Linked DNA regions of Homo sapiens: region 2 is linked to region 1. The links are contacts of gene promoters, found by promoter capture Hi-C in blood cells and fetal thymus (Javierre and others, 2016). All regions are on one chromosome and are shown on one strand. Each heading gives the region's core, a stretch centred on a gene start or on the middle of the fragment in contact. The rest is flanking DNA. Distances are from core to core; before and after follow the strand shown.

Region 1 (7,711 bases), core at 4,668-7,167:
ATTAAGTACCTGTCAATGAAAAGAGTCAAACTCTGTACAATATTTGAATAGATTTATTCTGAGCCAAATATGAGCAACCATGGCCTGTGACACAGCCCTCAGGATGTAACCACTGAAGGGGTTCACCTTGCCCACTACCTAGATAGAGCCGATTCATCAAGACAGGGGAATTGCAGTGGAGAAAGAGTATTTCATGCAGAGCCGGCTGTGCAGGTGCAGGAGACTAGAGTTTTAGAGTTGTTGTTGCTGTTGAGACAGAGTTTCGCTCTTGTTGCCCAGGTTGGAGTGCAATGGCATGATCTTGGCTCACTGCAACCTCCGCCTCCTGGGTTCAAGTGATTCTCCTGCCTCGGCCTCTCGAGTAGCTGGGATTACAGGCATGTGCCACCATGCTCGGCTAATTTTGTATTTTTAGTAGATATGGGGTTTCACCATGTTGGTCAGGCTGGTCTTGAACTCCTGACCTCAAGTGATCCACCTGCCTCAGTCTCCCAAAGTGCTGGGATTACAGGCATGAGCTACCATGCCCAGCAGGGAGCAGAGTTTTTGAAGATAACTTGGTGGGTGGGGGGAAGCCAGTGAGCCAGGGGTGATGATTGGTCAGAGATGAAATCATAGGGACTCAGAGCTGTCTTCGTGCACCCAGTCAATTACTGGGTGAGGGCCACAAGATCAGATGAGCCAGTTTATTGATCTGGGTGGGGCCAGCTGATCCATCAAGTGCAGGGTCAGCAAAATATCTCAAGCACTGATCTTAGGAGTAGTTTAGGGAGGATCAGGATCTTGTAGCCTCCAGCTGCGTGACTCCTAAACCATAATTTCTAATCTTGTGGCTAATGTTAGTCCTACAAAGGCAATCTAGTCCCCAGGCAAGAATGAAGTCAGCTTTGGGAAAGGGCTGTTACTGTCTTTGTTTAAACTATAAACTAAGTTTCTCCCAAAGTTAGTTCAGCTTACGCCTAGGAATGAACAAGGACAGCTTGGAGGTTAGAAACAAGATGGAGTCACTTAAGTTAGATCTCTTTCACTGTCTCAGTCATAATTTTGCAAAGGTGGTTTCAGAATGAGGAGAAAACAAAGAAAATGACCCCCTTTTGAGCACTCCGTAGCTTTTATGGCACCTCTACCTGACAAAGTTTATGTAAAATGGAAATAACGTGGTCTTTGTGCACATTTACATTAAGGAAAAAGAGCCCTAAGGTTGACCTGCAAACTATAGAATTCCTAAGTCATCTTTTTCTCTATTTTTCTTTTCTGCCTGCTCTAAATCTTCCTTCCTTCCTTCCTTCCCTCCTTCCTTCCTTCCTTCCTCCCTCCCTTCCTTTCGATGGAGTCTCACTCTGTTGCCCAGCCTGGAGTGCAATGGCACAATCTCATCTCACTGCAACTTCTGCCTCCCGGGTTCAAGTCATTCTCCTGCCTCAGCCTCCTGAGTAGCTGGGATTATAGGTGCCTGCCACCACACCCAGCTAATTTTTTGTATTTTTAGTAGAGATGGGGTTTCACCATGTTGGCCAGTCTGGTCTGGAACTCCTGACCTCGTGATCCGCCCACTTTGGCCTCCCACAGTGCTGGGATTACAGGCGTGAGCCACCGCGCCCGGCAATCTGCTGTTATTTTTCTATTAAGAGAAAAACCACTGTTTAGATCCAACAAGTTCTTTTTGCAAGCCAGGTGAATTTGTATTTATTTCATGGCTAAAAGTTCTGAAGTAAAAGCTACAAGGTGTGTGTGTGTGTGTGTGTGTTTAAAAGGCCTTTATAATTTCCATACTTTTATGTTTAATTGGCAATTAAATCTGTTTTAATTTCCCTCTAGAACACCAGACTTTTCTTGGCGCACCTTATAATGTAAATTTTGCTGTTTGACTTTCATCTGAACTGTTTCCTTTAATATGCAAATTTAAGGCTATTTAGCTGTCAACTGCCTAGGGTTGTGAAAGAGGTTATCAAGAATTTGATAACTCTTGAGGTCAGGTGTTTGAGACCTTCCTGGCCAACCTGGTGAAACCCCGTCTCTACTAAAAATAGAAAAATTAACTGAGGATGGTGGCAGGCACCTGTAATCCCAGCTACTCGGGAGGCTGAAGCAGAAGAATTGTTTCAATTTGGGAGGCAGAGGTTGCAGTGAGCCAAGATTGCACCACTGCACTCCGGCCTAGGTGACAGAGCGAGACTCCATCTCAAAAACAAACAAAAAGAATCTGAAAGATTAAAATAGGAAAAAAAAAGGTTTTTATAAATCTGTAAGATGTACTTCTATAGGCATGCCTGATATGTCTATGTATTTATGGGTGGTGTGCACAGTGTTTCACTACTGAAAATAAATAAAAGAGCTCTAATTGGCTTAAGAAAATAAAAGCACTTGAACACTTTATCAGGAAAAAAGACTAGTCAAATGCTGTTTCAAGTTTATGTAATGTAAGTAAAATCTTTAATACATAAGCTAGCTTCAAAATTATTATTAATGTTGGGATTACAGGTGTGAGCCAGCCACTGCACCCAGCCACTTTTTTACTATTAAAAACAACCTGAGCCAGGTGCGGTGGCTCACGCCTGTAATCCCAACACTTTGGGAGGCCGAGGCGGGCAGATAACTTGAGGTCAGGAGTTTGAGACCAGCCTGACTAACATAATGAAACCCCATCTCTACTAAAAATACAAAATTAGCCAGGCATGGTGGCACATGCCTGTAATCCCAGTTACTTGGGAGGCTGAGGCAGGAGAATCGCTTGAACCTGGGAGGCGGAGGTTGCAGTGAGCCGAGACTGTGCCATTGCACTCAAGCCTGGGCATCAAGAGCGAATCTTCGTCTCAATAAAACGAAACAAAACAAAACAAAATTAAACAAAACAACCTTACTGGCCGGGCACAGCTGTAATCCCAGCACTTTGGGAGGCCAAGGCGGGCGGATCACTAGGTCAGGAGTTCGAGACCAGCCTGGCCAACATAGTGAAACCCTGTCTGTATAAAAATACAAAAATTAGCTGAGTGTGGTGGCTCACGGCTGTAGTCCCAGCTACTTGGGAGGCTGAGGCAGGAGAATCACTTGAATCCGGGAGGTGGGTGGAGGTTGCAGTGAGCCGAGATTGCGCCACTGCACTCCAGCTTGGGCAACAGAGTGAGACTTCGTCTCAAAAAAAATAAATAAAGTGAAAAAGTGAAGGGCCAGGCTCAGTGGCTCAAGCCTGTAATCCCAGCACTTTGGGAGGCCGAGGCAGGTGGATCACTTTAGGTCAGGAGTTCGAGACCAGCCTGGCCAACATGGTGAAACCCCGCCTCTACTAAAAATACAAAAATTAGCTGGGTATGGTGGCTCATGCCTGTACTCTCAGCTACTTGGGAAGTTGAGACAGGAGAATCGCTTGAACCCGGGAGGTGGAGGTTGTAGTGAACTGAGATTGAGCCACTGTACTCCAGCCTGGGTGACAGAGCAAAACTCTGTCTAAAAAAAAAAAAAAAAAAAATGTGAAACTGACAAAACATACCAAAGGGAAAAAAAGTAATAGGAGAAAATATTAACATTATAATGCTAAGTGAAAAAAATGTACATACGGCCGGGCACGGTGGCTCATGCCTGTAATCCAGCACTTTGGGAGGCCGAGGCAGGTGGATCACCTGAGGTTGGGAGTTCGAGACCAGCCTGACCAACATGGAGAAACCCTGTCTCTACTAAAAATACAAAGTTAGCTGGGTGTGGCGGCCATGCCTGTAATCCCAGCTACTCAGGAGGCTGAGGCAGGAGAATCAGTTGAACCAGGAAGGTGGAGGTTGCCGTGAGCCAAGTTCGCGCCACTGCACTCCAGTCTGGGCAACAAGAGCAAAACTCTGTCTCAAAGAACAAAAAACAAAACAAAACAAAAAACTAGCTGGGCATGGCAGTGCATGCCTGTAATCCCAGCTACTTGGGAGGCTGAGACAGGAGGATCGCTTGAACCAGGGAGGCGGAGGTTGCTGTGAGCCAAGATCATGCCATTGCACTCCAGCTTGGGCAACAAGAGTGAAACTCTGTCTCAAGAAAAGTAAAATAAAAATAAAATAAAATAAAATAAAATAAAATTGTACATACATCATCCAATTGTGTAAAGGAGTATGTTCAGAAGGGGGAAACTGCAGAGATTAACAATGGTAATAATAATAATCACCAACATTTTTGAGTACTTTCTCTTTTTTTGTTAAAGCCCAGACTGGAGTGCAGTGGTGTGATCATGGTTCACTGCAGCCTCGACCTCCTGGGCTCCAGTGATTCTCCCACCTCAACCTCCCAAGTAGCTGCGACTACAGGCAAGCACCACCATGCCTGGCTATGCCTGGCTAAGTTGTGTATTTTTTGTAGAGACGGGAGTCTTGCTATGTTGCCCAGGCTAGTCTAGAATTCCTGAGCTCAAGTGATCGGACTGCCTGGCCTCCCAAAGTGCTGGGATTAGAGACCACTAATGTACCTTTGAGCACTTTAAAAAAAAAATTATTATTATTATTTTTTGAAATGGAGTTTTGCTCTTGTTGCCCAGGCTGGAGTGCAATGGTGCGATCTCAGCTCACTGCCACCTCTGCTTCCCGGGGTTCAAGCAATTCTCCTGTCTCAGCCTCCTGAGTAGCTGGGAATACAGGCACCCGCCACTACGCCCGGCGTAAGTGCATTTCCTGCATTTAATAGATGGCGAAACTGAGGCTCCGGAAGGAAGGTTAAGTCCATGGATGGTTACTTAGTAAGTAGCTCATTCAAATCCAGGCCTGTTGAACCCCAAAGTCCATGTTTTTAAGATTGTCTTGTCTTTCCTTAGCTCCGGACGTTGGTGTTATTATTATTATTATTTTTTTTTTTTTGAGACGGAGTCTTGCTCTGTCACCCAGGCTGGAGTGCAGTGGCGCGATCTCGGCTCACTGCAAGCTCCGCCTCCCGAGTTCACACCATTCTTCTGCCTCAGCCTCCCCAGCAGCTGGGACAACAGGCGCGTGCTGCCACGCCCGGCTAATTTTTTTGTATTTTTAGTAGAGACGGGGTTTCACTGTGTTAGCCAGGATGGTCTCGATCTCCTGACCTCATGATCCGCCTGCCTTGGCCTTCCAAAGTGCTGGGATTACAGGCGTAAGCCCCACGCCCAGTGGAATTTTCCTAGTTCTTTACACTAGCCATGTATTTACCTATAAAATCAGGAGAAATATGTATATATATAATATATTAAAACATATATATATTTAAATGGGGAAATATGTAACAAACAAATAGAAACAAGGGGAGAAAGGCATTGTATTTGACAAAACACATATGTTCAGGTCTGAGAAGGCTCATAAAGAATGTTGTCTGCTATACTTTGTAGTTGCTTCTGTTATCACACAATCAGTCTGCATATACAGGCGTTTTATATATATATTTATATAGACTACATATATACGTATATTATATATGTAAATATTTCACTGTCTTTGAGGACGGGGGCCCTGTCTTTTTTATCTGTGGTTTTGCTTAGATGTCCTCCAACATAATCTTAACACATAGTATGCTTTTAGAAATCGTTGACTGAATGCTAAGGACGAAAAACCGGTGACCAGAAGGCAACCAGGAAAGGCTTTGCTGACCTCCGGAGTGGTGGAGTTGGAGGTTCTGGGAAGGCGACTAGGGAGCCAGGCAGGGGCGGGGTGGGATGGGATGTGGACAGCGCTTTTGCGGGGGGAAAGCGTTTTTGCTGCTGGAATTGAGCAGTAGGAATGTGTCAGTCACATCCCCACCTTCCCAATTCTTGTCATCTCGGTTCAGGAAGGTGAACGGTGTTCCGATTCCCCGCGGCGGGGGCCTGTAGTGGGAGCTCTGCCCCTTCCCCGCCTCTGCTGCAGGCCCCGCCCCTCGCCCGGAACCCCGGGGCGCTGGCCGCGGTGCTGAAACGGCGCCCTCCGCGGACGGAGGAGGGGGCGGGGCTCTCGGGAGCCGTGAGCCGGGAAGAGGGAGACGGGCAGGGCGGCGCCAGCAGGCCCTGGTGGGCTTGGGAGGAGGCAGGAGACTGGAGACAGCCTCGGCTAGAGCGGACACAGGCACCTGGCAAGCTTTCCTTGACCAAATCAAGGTTGTCCTTGTCCTATTAAGCCTCTTCCCCTTGCCTTGAAGGGACCTCACCTGGTGCCCTGACCTCAGCCTCCTCCCCAAACCCCGCTGGGGAGTGACCTGCTTCTAGGCCTCCATCCACAAAGCTACGGACTTGCAGCCCACGGGACCCCAGCCCAGGGCCTGCTGCCCTCACCATGGTGAAATTGCTGCCGGCCCAGGAGGCAGCCAAGATCTACCATACCAACTATGTGCGGAACTCGCGAGCCGTGGGCGTGATGTGGGGTACCCTCACCATCTGCTTCTCCGTACTGGTCATGGCCCTCTTCATCCAGCCCTACTGGATCGGCGACAGCGTCAACACACCGCAGGCAGGCTACTTCGGCCTTTTCTCCTACTGCGTGGGTAACGTGCTGTCCTCCGAGCTCATCTGCAAGGGCGGCCCCCTAGACTTCTCCTCCATCCCCTCTAGAGCCTTCAAGACTGCCATGTTCTTTGTGGCCTTGGGCATGTTCCTCATCATTGGCTCCATCATCTGCTTCAGCCTGTTCTTCATCTGCAACACGGCCACAGTCTATAAGATCTGTGCATGGATGCAGCTGGCTGCGGGTAAGCAGAGATGGTGGGAGGGCAGGCAGGGGCCCACCCCGGGGCCACAGCTGCAGCTGCACCATCCCAGCCTCTGCCAGGGCTCTGGGCCTTAAATTTAGCTGTTCTCCTATAGCCCAGTCCTACTCAGTGCTCTGCAGAAGATTCTGAGGAGTTGAGAATCTTAAAATGGCAGAGGCAGAAAAGACCTTAGAGACCAAGCTGTCCAACCCTCTCATCCTACAGATGAGGTTCTGAGCCCAGAACCTCATCTGAGCCCAGAACCTCATCTGTAAGGGGAAGTGACTTGCCCAGGAGCACACAGTTGCCAGTCCTGATTCCCAGGCCATCACATCAGTTTTTGCAGCTGTGAGAGAGAGAAAGAAGGAAGCTTCCATTGTTGGCCATGTGGGAATAGGACTCAACCCTAGCACAAAGTAGTGACACCAGTCAAGCACATTCTAGATGCCTTCATCTCCCACCTCTGGGCTTTTGTTCTTTTTAAGAGTGCCCAGAACTCTGTCCTCATTCTCTCTCTCCCACTCCAAACTGCTCTCAGATTCTAAGGTCTCTTGCTGATTTTGGAGTGTTACTATTATGCAGGGTATGACCTTGCCTATAGAAACTTTCATCTAAATTCCCCTCTTTCATTGTGGAGTGAAAGTCTTTTTTCCTTGATCATGGGATTTTATACTTAAGGCAGCAAATGGAGTGATATTTTGTGAGGTAGAGGAAGCTATTTAGGGTCCTTTTGTTGTTGTTGTTGTTTGTTTGTTTTTTGAGACAGAGTCTCACTCTTTGGCTCAGGCTGGAGTGCAGTGGCATGATCTCAGCTGACTGCAGCCTCAACCTCCTTGGACTTAGGTGATCCTCTCACATCAGCCTCCCAAGTAGCTGGGACTCCAGGTGCGCACCACCATGTCTAGCTAATTTTTTTTGTATTTTTTGTAGAGACGGGGTTTTGTCATGTTGCCCAGGCAGGTCTTGAACTGCTGGGCTCAAGTGATTTGCCTGCCTCAGTCTCCCAAAGTGTTGGGATTTCAGATGTGATCCACAGCACCTGGCCTAGGGTCCTTTAAAACAA
Region 2 (7,509 bases), core at 2,281-4,780, 530 kb after region 1:
GCTACATGGAAACTTTTAGCAATATGTATCTGTACCTTATATGGAAATTCACTAATGTTCCTGAAAGGCTCAGAGACTGGCTGCCTTATGGTTGTGTTTCCAAAGACGATGCAGGGTAGGACAAGGAGAAGAGATCATAGAGGAAAATATTTATGTTTGTTCTCACTTATTTCTCTCAACATTTAATAAGCACCCACTCTGCACCAGAAATTATGCTCAGTGCTAGGGATACAATCATGAACAAGATGCAGTGTGTGCCCCCAGAGGGAATATTCTGGTCTTCTCTGAATGCGCAGGAATAAGGATGTGAGTACACAGTGATGACAGCAATGTCCCATTCCCCTGCATCTGCTCTCTCTTCAGAGGCACATGGTCTTAAAAGAAGATAAATTTAGGTTGAAGTTCTATGTGATTTAAGCTCACATTTAAAAAAGAGTAAGCTGACCAGAAATATTTACTGAACGGTGTCAGGGTTCTCTCTGCATTTTCCATATGTTCCTGTGGTCAGGGAAAATTGGATGGGGTTGTCAGAGAAGCTGTTCATTAACAAAACCACAGAACCAGGACACTCTTGTTCAGCTCAGCCTCTCTTCCGTCTGCACAGATTTGGCTCCATGGGACCCATCGCACGGAGGACCGGCGCTTCCTTACCCAGTTAACGGGAAGAGAGATGCAGTAATCTTTTAAAAAGCTGTCATTGCTATGGAAACGGTTTTCGCCATTGCCAATGGCAGCAGTATCCTCCTACCACATTCCAAGGACACGCTGCTCCTCCTGATCAGAACATTAACACAATCCCACCAGCACATGCTTTCCCTGATGTTTTTTCAGGAAAGCTGCGGTGATTTGGCCGCTCCCTCCCTGGAATAACCGGTGCCCTGAGCCCCCGGGGAGATGAGAGGAACTAAGGCCAGGAGCCCCCGCAGCTGCTGCTGCTGAGCCCAGAGGCAGGCAGGAAGGGGGCCTCTGCTATCCAAGAGTTTCCCCAGTGAAGAGATTCCAGGGTCTCCCAAGGTTTCCTAATTCCAAATCCAGTGGCCTCTTCCCATGTCTTGTCCTCCCTTACGTGCTTCAGTATTTGATACCAGCCCTACTTCCTTCTTTTCTCTTTCCTCTCTGGGTGGCTGTGACTGTCCTCAGTCCAGCTCTCTCCTCCCTCTCCCCCGCTCCAACTGCTCCTCCTCTGTAATGTTCCAAAGATTGTCTTCAGCTCTAGGCCAGGGATTGAGACAGCGCGGCTGACTGGGGAAGACACACCCACACGCCCCCAGGAAGACCCCTGAAGAACCTCTGCGGATGGGGTGTCCTCAGTCTCTAAGCCCTGGGAAGCTTGTCTTTTAATCCTAATAACCTCCCCTTTCCTACATGTGCCAAAATTAAACCGTTCAAGACTTTCCAAATATAAAATTCTGCTATCCAGGATTTATCAAAGCAAGACTTTCCTTTCCTTTCTTCTTCTTTTTTTGTTTTGTGCCCCAGGTGCTCAACTACGTTCAGTCCGACCACCAGGGAATCCCACCCTGTGCAGACTGTGCTCCAGACCAGGAATCCTAAGTGAGCAGCGTGGTCTCACTATGCGGAAACCCAGCTGATCTTGTAAACTTGTTATTGCCTTGGCCGAAAGTGGATGTCAGAGCAAAGTCCAAATCAGCTCAGAAATACCCAAGTGATCTGCACATCACAAGACTGCTTCTGATAAGATGTGACATTTACCGGTGACATGTCCAGCAACAGCAACAAAGAACCAGAGAAGGCTCACAAAGCTGACCCTGGAACGGGAAGTTTGCTTGCCTTCCCCAAGCTTGCTGCTGTGTGTTGTTTACTTTCTAAGTTGCACGGTGACCTCATCTCTATGCTGTTCTCTAATTTGTTCACCTGGCCGCGTTACTCTCTAACTGCTCTGGTGCCTTTCATGGAGATAACTTCGCGGCTCCCCTTCTCCACCCCATGATTCACACAATAGAAACTTCACAGAGAGCCAACCTGCTGCACACCCACAGCAGCACCCTGAGGGACAGAGTGTGTGGCACACACACGTGGACCCACAGTCAACACCACAGACATCCACGTGTCACCAGAACACACTTGTGCACACCACAGACCAACATGGACTCAAGACGCCCTGTATTTCTCCTGTCCCAAGTGTAAGGGAATAATTATGTGACCAAGCTCACCGCTTGCCATCGGTCCTAACTCTAAATTCCATGAGAGGGGACCTGAGCCTGGGAGGCTCTCAGTGTTTGTGAAACAAACAAATGATACACAGGCATGTGCAAACCCAAACCAGCTCACCTTCATGCAGCCACACGGCGTCCAGAGAGCCGTTTCATTGACATGATCTCATTTCATCTTTGCCAGGAGCAGTGAATCAGATGGGCTAACAGTGGGGCACTGAGGCTCCGGACCATTAAGAGACACGCCCAAGGTCACATAGCCGGGAAGCAGAGAGCTGAGACTCTCCCACTTCTCCCGATTCAAATCCTACATTCTCTATTCTACACCAAATGGCCTCATGTAAGCATAGATACACATGCACGCACTTACACATGGACTTAGGGGAGAAACCTGCTATTTCACACTGATGGAGGTAATCACAGTCACATACACACCTACCATGACCTATGCACATGGAGTCACACAATCACGTGTGCCTAGGTATAGACACCCATGCCCTCCCCACCCCATTCTGTCCTCTATCCAAGACCACGGGCAATGCAACACTGTGTGAGGAGTCGGTCAGGACTGTGGGTTATAATCCACCTCCCAGCCTCTACATTCCCATCCAAGAGAGCAGTAGACCATGAGTTATTTTAATAAGATTTCCCCATTCTTGGACTAACTTCCAAAAACCTTAAAACTCATAGAACCTTAATTTAACCATAGGTCATAATAACACCTCTCATTTATCAGGGGGTTCCCTCATGTACCTTCACATAAAGTCTATAACTTGACCTCTACCACATCCTGAGGGAAACTAGCAGGTGAGCTATGTAATGCTGCCCCATCCTACAGACAAGAAAACTGAGGCCCAAGGAAGTGAAGTTCCTTGCTCAGGGTGGCGGCTAATAAGCAGGATTGGGACTTGAATACAGAGTTTTAAGTCCGAGTGAGCCCAGAGCCCTTTGAGAAACACCCCGTTGAGATAATGTCATTGAACCTTGCTCCCTCTTTTTAGAGATAAGAAAACTGATCCCCCACCTCCACCCCCATTGCCTCTCTGGGAGGGCCCAGCATGCTGGAAGCAGCATTGGGACTGGACTCTTGGTTTGACACCCAGGACTAAACTCTTCTCCGGACCCCAAGATACATACCCACTGCTCCCGCCCCCAAAGGAGAGGGTATTGTTCAACCAACCTTGGACCACAGAAATCGCTTCTGTCCTGAACACCCTGGGCTGGGATCTTCAGACAAGAGGTCTCTGTGTTAGGCTCTGCTCCCTGTCAGCTGGAAGTTGTGTCCAGTGAGAAGTCAGACCCAGCTCTCCCAGGGAGAAGATGCCACTACTTTGGTGCTGGCAATTTTCTGAGTGTCTCAGAAGATGCTTTGGCCGTCCATATATACAGTATCTCCCAGGAACTGAGCTCATGGCAGCCAATCCAGAGAGCCATGGGCTGGCTCACCTTCCTCCACCTGTTACCACCCATCCCAGGACTGCTCCCCGCTCCTCCAATGATAAGAGGCTTAGCTCAGCTACCCTGGAAAAAACAGTTTCACTTGTCAACTTCCTTATTGCACCCAAACCCCAGTAAGAAACCAAAGCTCAGAAAATAACCTAAGGTCTGGCTGGGGAAAACCCCACCTGTAGAGTTGAAAACAAGACTTAATGGGAAATGCAGGTTAGGGGGAGAAAGTCGAGGTGGCTTTATTGCCTTTACAACATCCCTCAGTTATCTTTGAAGATTAGTGGGGAGGGAGGTACCTAGAAAGAAAGGTCAGCGATGGGATACATACATCCCTTGACCTGGAGACAACCCAGAAGGAAGAGCCCACAAGAGCCACGTGTTCCAGATCTGCTATGCCCGGGAAGGGTTGCCATGGATCTTGAGAGAACATTCTAAGAAGTCTTAAAAAGTCAGATTTCCACTTTCTGTAATGCCTTATTTTAAAAAATAGAGTGTAAATACATGTTTATAATCAGAAAAGAAAAACATGTTTTATTAAAATGAAAGCAAAGGCCGGGCACGGTGGCTCACACCTGTAATCCCAGCAATTTGGGAGGCTGAGGCAGGCGGATCACCTGAGGTCAGGAGTTCGAGACCAGCCTGGCCAACATGGCGAAACTCCATCTCTACTAAAAATACAAAAATTAGCCAGGTATGGTGGCAGACACTTGTAATCCCAGCTACTTGGAAGGCTGAGGCAGGAAAATCACTTGAACCCAGGAGGCAGAAGTTGTAGTGAGCTGAGATCGTGCCACTGCACTCCAGCCTGGGTGACAGAGTGAGACTCTGTCTCAAAAAAAAAAAAAAAAAAAAAAAGAAAAAAAAAGAAAAAAATATTAAGAAATTCTGTTTTGGTTCATTAACACAGGGAGGCATCACAAAATATATATGGAAGCACCAAACTTTGGAGTCAGCCCCATCTGGAGACACCTGCCAGCTGTGTAACCACAGCAGGGGACATGATGTCACTGAGCTTGTGCTCACTTATAAAACAAGTAGTCATCTCAGAGGGTAGTTGGGCCAAATGCGATAATGCTTACAAAGAAAAGAAGAAGGCCAGGCATGGTGGCTCACATCTGTAATCCCAGCACTGTGGGAGACCAAGGTAGGAGGATTGCTTGAGCCCAGAAGTTCAAGACCAGCCTGGACAACATAGTGAGATCTTATCTCTACTAAAAATTTTAAAAATTAGCCAGGCATGGTGGCACATGCCTGTAGTCTCAGCTACTCAGGAGGCTGAGGCAGGAGGATTGCTTGAGCCCAGGAGGTCAAGGCTGCAGTGAGCCATGATCGTGCTACTGCACTCCAGCCTAGGCAACAGAGTGAGATCCTGTCTCAAAGGAAAAAAGAAGAAAGGAAGGAAAGGAAGGAAAAAAAGAAGGAAAGAAAGGAAGAAAGGGAGGGAGGGAGGGAGGAAGGAAGGAAGGAAGGAAGGAAGGAAGGAAGGAAAAAGAAAGAAAGAAAGAAACAAAGAAAGAGAAGGAAAGGAAGGAAGAAAGAGAAGGAAAGGAAGGAAGGAAATGTATGGAGTGCCAGACATCTTTCTTTCTGTGTATTAACAGTGCCTGGTACTTGTAAGGGCTCAATAAAGGGCCAATGTTTTATTACGGGCAACAGAGTTATTAATGCTTCATTCATTCTGTCAACAGGTTTTGGATCCAGCTATGTGACAGACACTGTCTCAGCACTAAATTTAGAATTTATTAGTCCAAGAAGTCACTCAGCCTTCAAACAAATGTTAAATAATATTACATATTTTTCATTTATTTAATGAAACTATTGTGTCAACCACTTCTTCCAGGCCCTGTGTGTATTGTATGTGTTCTTTCTTATTCCAAGGTGAATATGCCCAGCCTGGCCCAGCCCTCATGGAGTCCATAAAGTAGTTGGGAAGAGAGAAACACACAGAGAAAAATCATACAAGCAAGCAGAAGGGAATAGGAAGTTGTTTAATGCGTACAGAGTTTCAGTTTGAGAGGAATGTGGTACCACTACCTCCACCATTCAACCATCTCCACAACTTTTGAGATGTGGAGGATTTTCACAAGGCACACTCAAACTCAACTTTTGAGTTTGGAGATGGTTCAATGGTGGAGAGTGGTACAACAATCAAAATGTGCTTAATGCCACTGCACCGTACACTTTAAAAAGGTTACAACAGTCAACTTTATGTCATGCATATTTTACCACAATAAAAAGAAGGGGAGGGGCAGACAGCCACGTGGCACACCGTGCAGACATCTCCCATGTACCCAGCAATCCCATCTGCAGGTACATACGCTCCTAGGTTCTCACGGGAGGGAGAACCATCATGGGCAGCTCTGGGCATCCCACGCCTTCTCCATCAGGGGTCCGGGGGGCAACCTAGCCCTGTGCTCAGTGCCTGCCAAAGACCATATCCTGGAGACGATCTCCACGATCTGGAGACAGACTCTGGCAGCTGCCTGTCCCAGGGCCAAGGTCGGCTACACTACGAGTGAGCCCCCATGCAAAATGAAAACAAAGCACCCTTGTTCAAAACGTATTAATAGTTTCAAGACAGACAGCAGAACATTAAACCAAGCCCCCTGCCCTTCTGAGTGCACACCCTGTGCAACAGTCCAGGTCACACAGCCTTGAAGGGGGCTCTGAAGGTGACAGTTCCCAACCATGTGCTGGGAGGGAAGATGGCAGAGGGAGAGAGAGGGAGATTGAGAGAGAATATCTTTAAAATTTTTATTTAAGTATAACGTATAAAAAGGTGCACAGATCACAGGCAGACAGCTCAATGAATTTTCACGAAGGGAATAAACCTGTGTAACCACCACCCAGATGAAGAAAGAGAACATTCCTGGCACCCCAGAACCCACCTTGTTGCCCTCACGACTCCCAGATTAGATTAGTTTTGCCTATTTTTGAGCATCATCGGTCTGCATGTTTTCTTTTATGCCTGGCTTTTCTCACCGCATGTCTGCGGGACTCAGCCATACTGCTGTGCTGTCATTCTCAGACGGACAATCCCAAGTGTCAGAGCCCATGTGGGGCAAACAGAATTCTCATACGCTGCTGGTGGGAGTGGAAAATGGTGCAACTACTTGGAAAAATCGGCTGGCAATATCTATCAAAGCTGAACAAACACCTGCCCTGTGACCCAGCAATTCCACCCCCAGATAGATACACAACAGAAATGCATCCCCATGGCCCCCCGAAACAACTTTGATATGAATGTGTATATCAGTGCTGTTTGTGAGAGCCAAACTCTCAAAAACTTGAAACTACTTAAATGCCCATTAACAGGAAAATGTACAAACAGTGGCATATTCACACAATTGAGATTTTGTTGTTGTTTTTTCCAGAGAGTCTGTACATTTGTTTATAAAGATTTTTCACCCGCTTGTGTGGGCTGCGTGTGCAGCACGGGGCACGGAAGATAAACGTGGTCTTGGATAAAAATGATGGTAGCCAACGGAGAGGAGTGGGTGGAACACAGGGCCCCAGTCTCAGGAGCGCGGGATTTGGCGGTTCTGAGTAACAAACCTAAGAAGGATTTTCACAAGGCACACTCTAACCTCTCTGAGTGTGAACGCTGCTTCCCAGAAATCCGTCCCCATCCCGGCAGAATTATCTACATATGGAAATGAGCCTGGATCTTCATTTGCTCTGCGGCTCTTGTTCACCGCAGAGCAAAGAGCAAGCTGGTGAACTCTCACTCCTTTCCCGGGCCACACCCTCTGCCTGGAGCCTGCTAATTCGAGGTCCAGCCTCCAACCCACCGGCCTTCCCTAAGTCTCCTTCAGTGTCCTCAGTGAGAGGTGCCGGAAAGGCTATGACCTCACTCCTTCCCAAGCCCCGTCAGAACCCAGAACCA

The links. The method cuts DNA at HindIII sites, captures the fragments that hold promoters and counts their contacts. A CHiCAGO score of 5 or more calls a contact.
Region 2: a contact is called between the fragment with the promoter of BNIP5 here and the fragment with the promoter of LHFPL5 in region 1, in 2 of 17 cell types (total CD8 T cells and fetal thymus). The highest score is 6.7, in total CD8 T cells.

What each region holds. Positions count from the first base shown.
Region 1 is chr6:35,799,435-35,807,145 of GRCh38, forward strand. It overlaps LHFPL5 (LHFPL tetraspan subfamily member 5), which reads left to right and starts at 5,918. Exons shown (of 4, transcript NM_182548.4): 1 at 5,918-6,648. The coding sequence starts at 6,237. RefSeq lists a silencer at 5,787-5,956. The HindIII fragment of the contact is 6,136 bases long and covers 1-6,039 here.
Region 2 is chr6:36,333,358-36,340,866 of GRCh38, forward strand. It overlaps BNIP5 (BCL2 interacting protein 5), which reads right to left and starts at 3,531. Exons shown (of 12, transcript NM_001010903.5): 1 at 3,355-3,531. The HindIII fragment of the contact is 11,027 bases long and covers 1,800-7,509 here.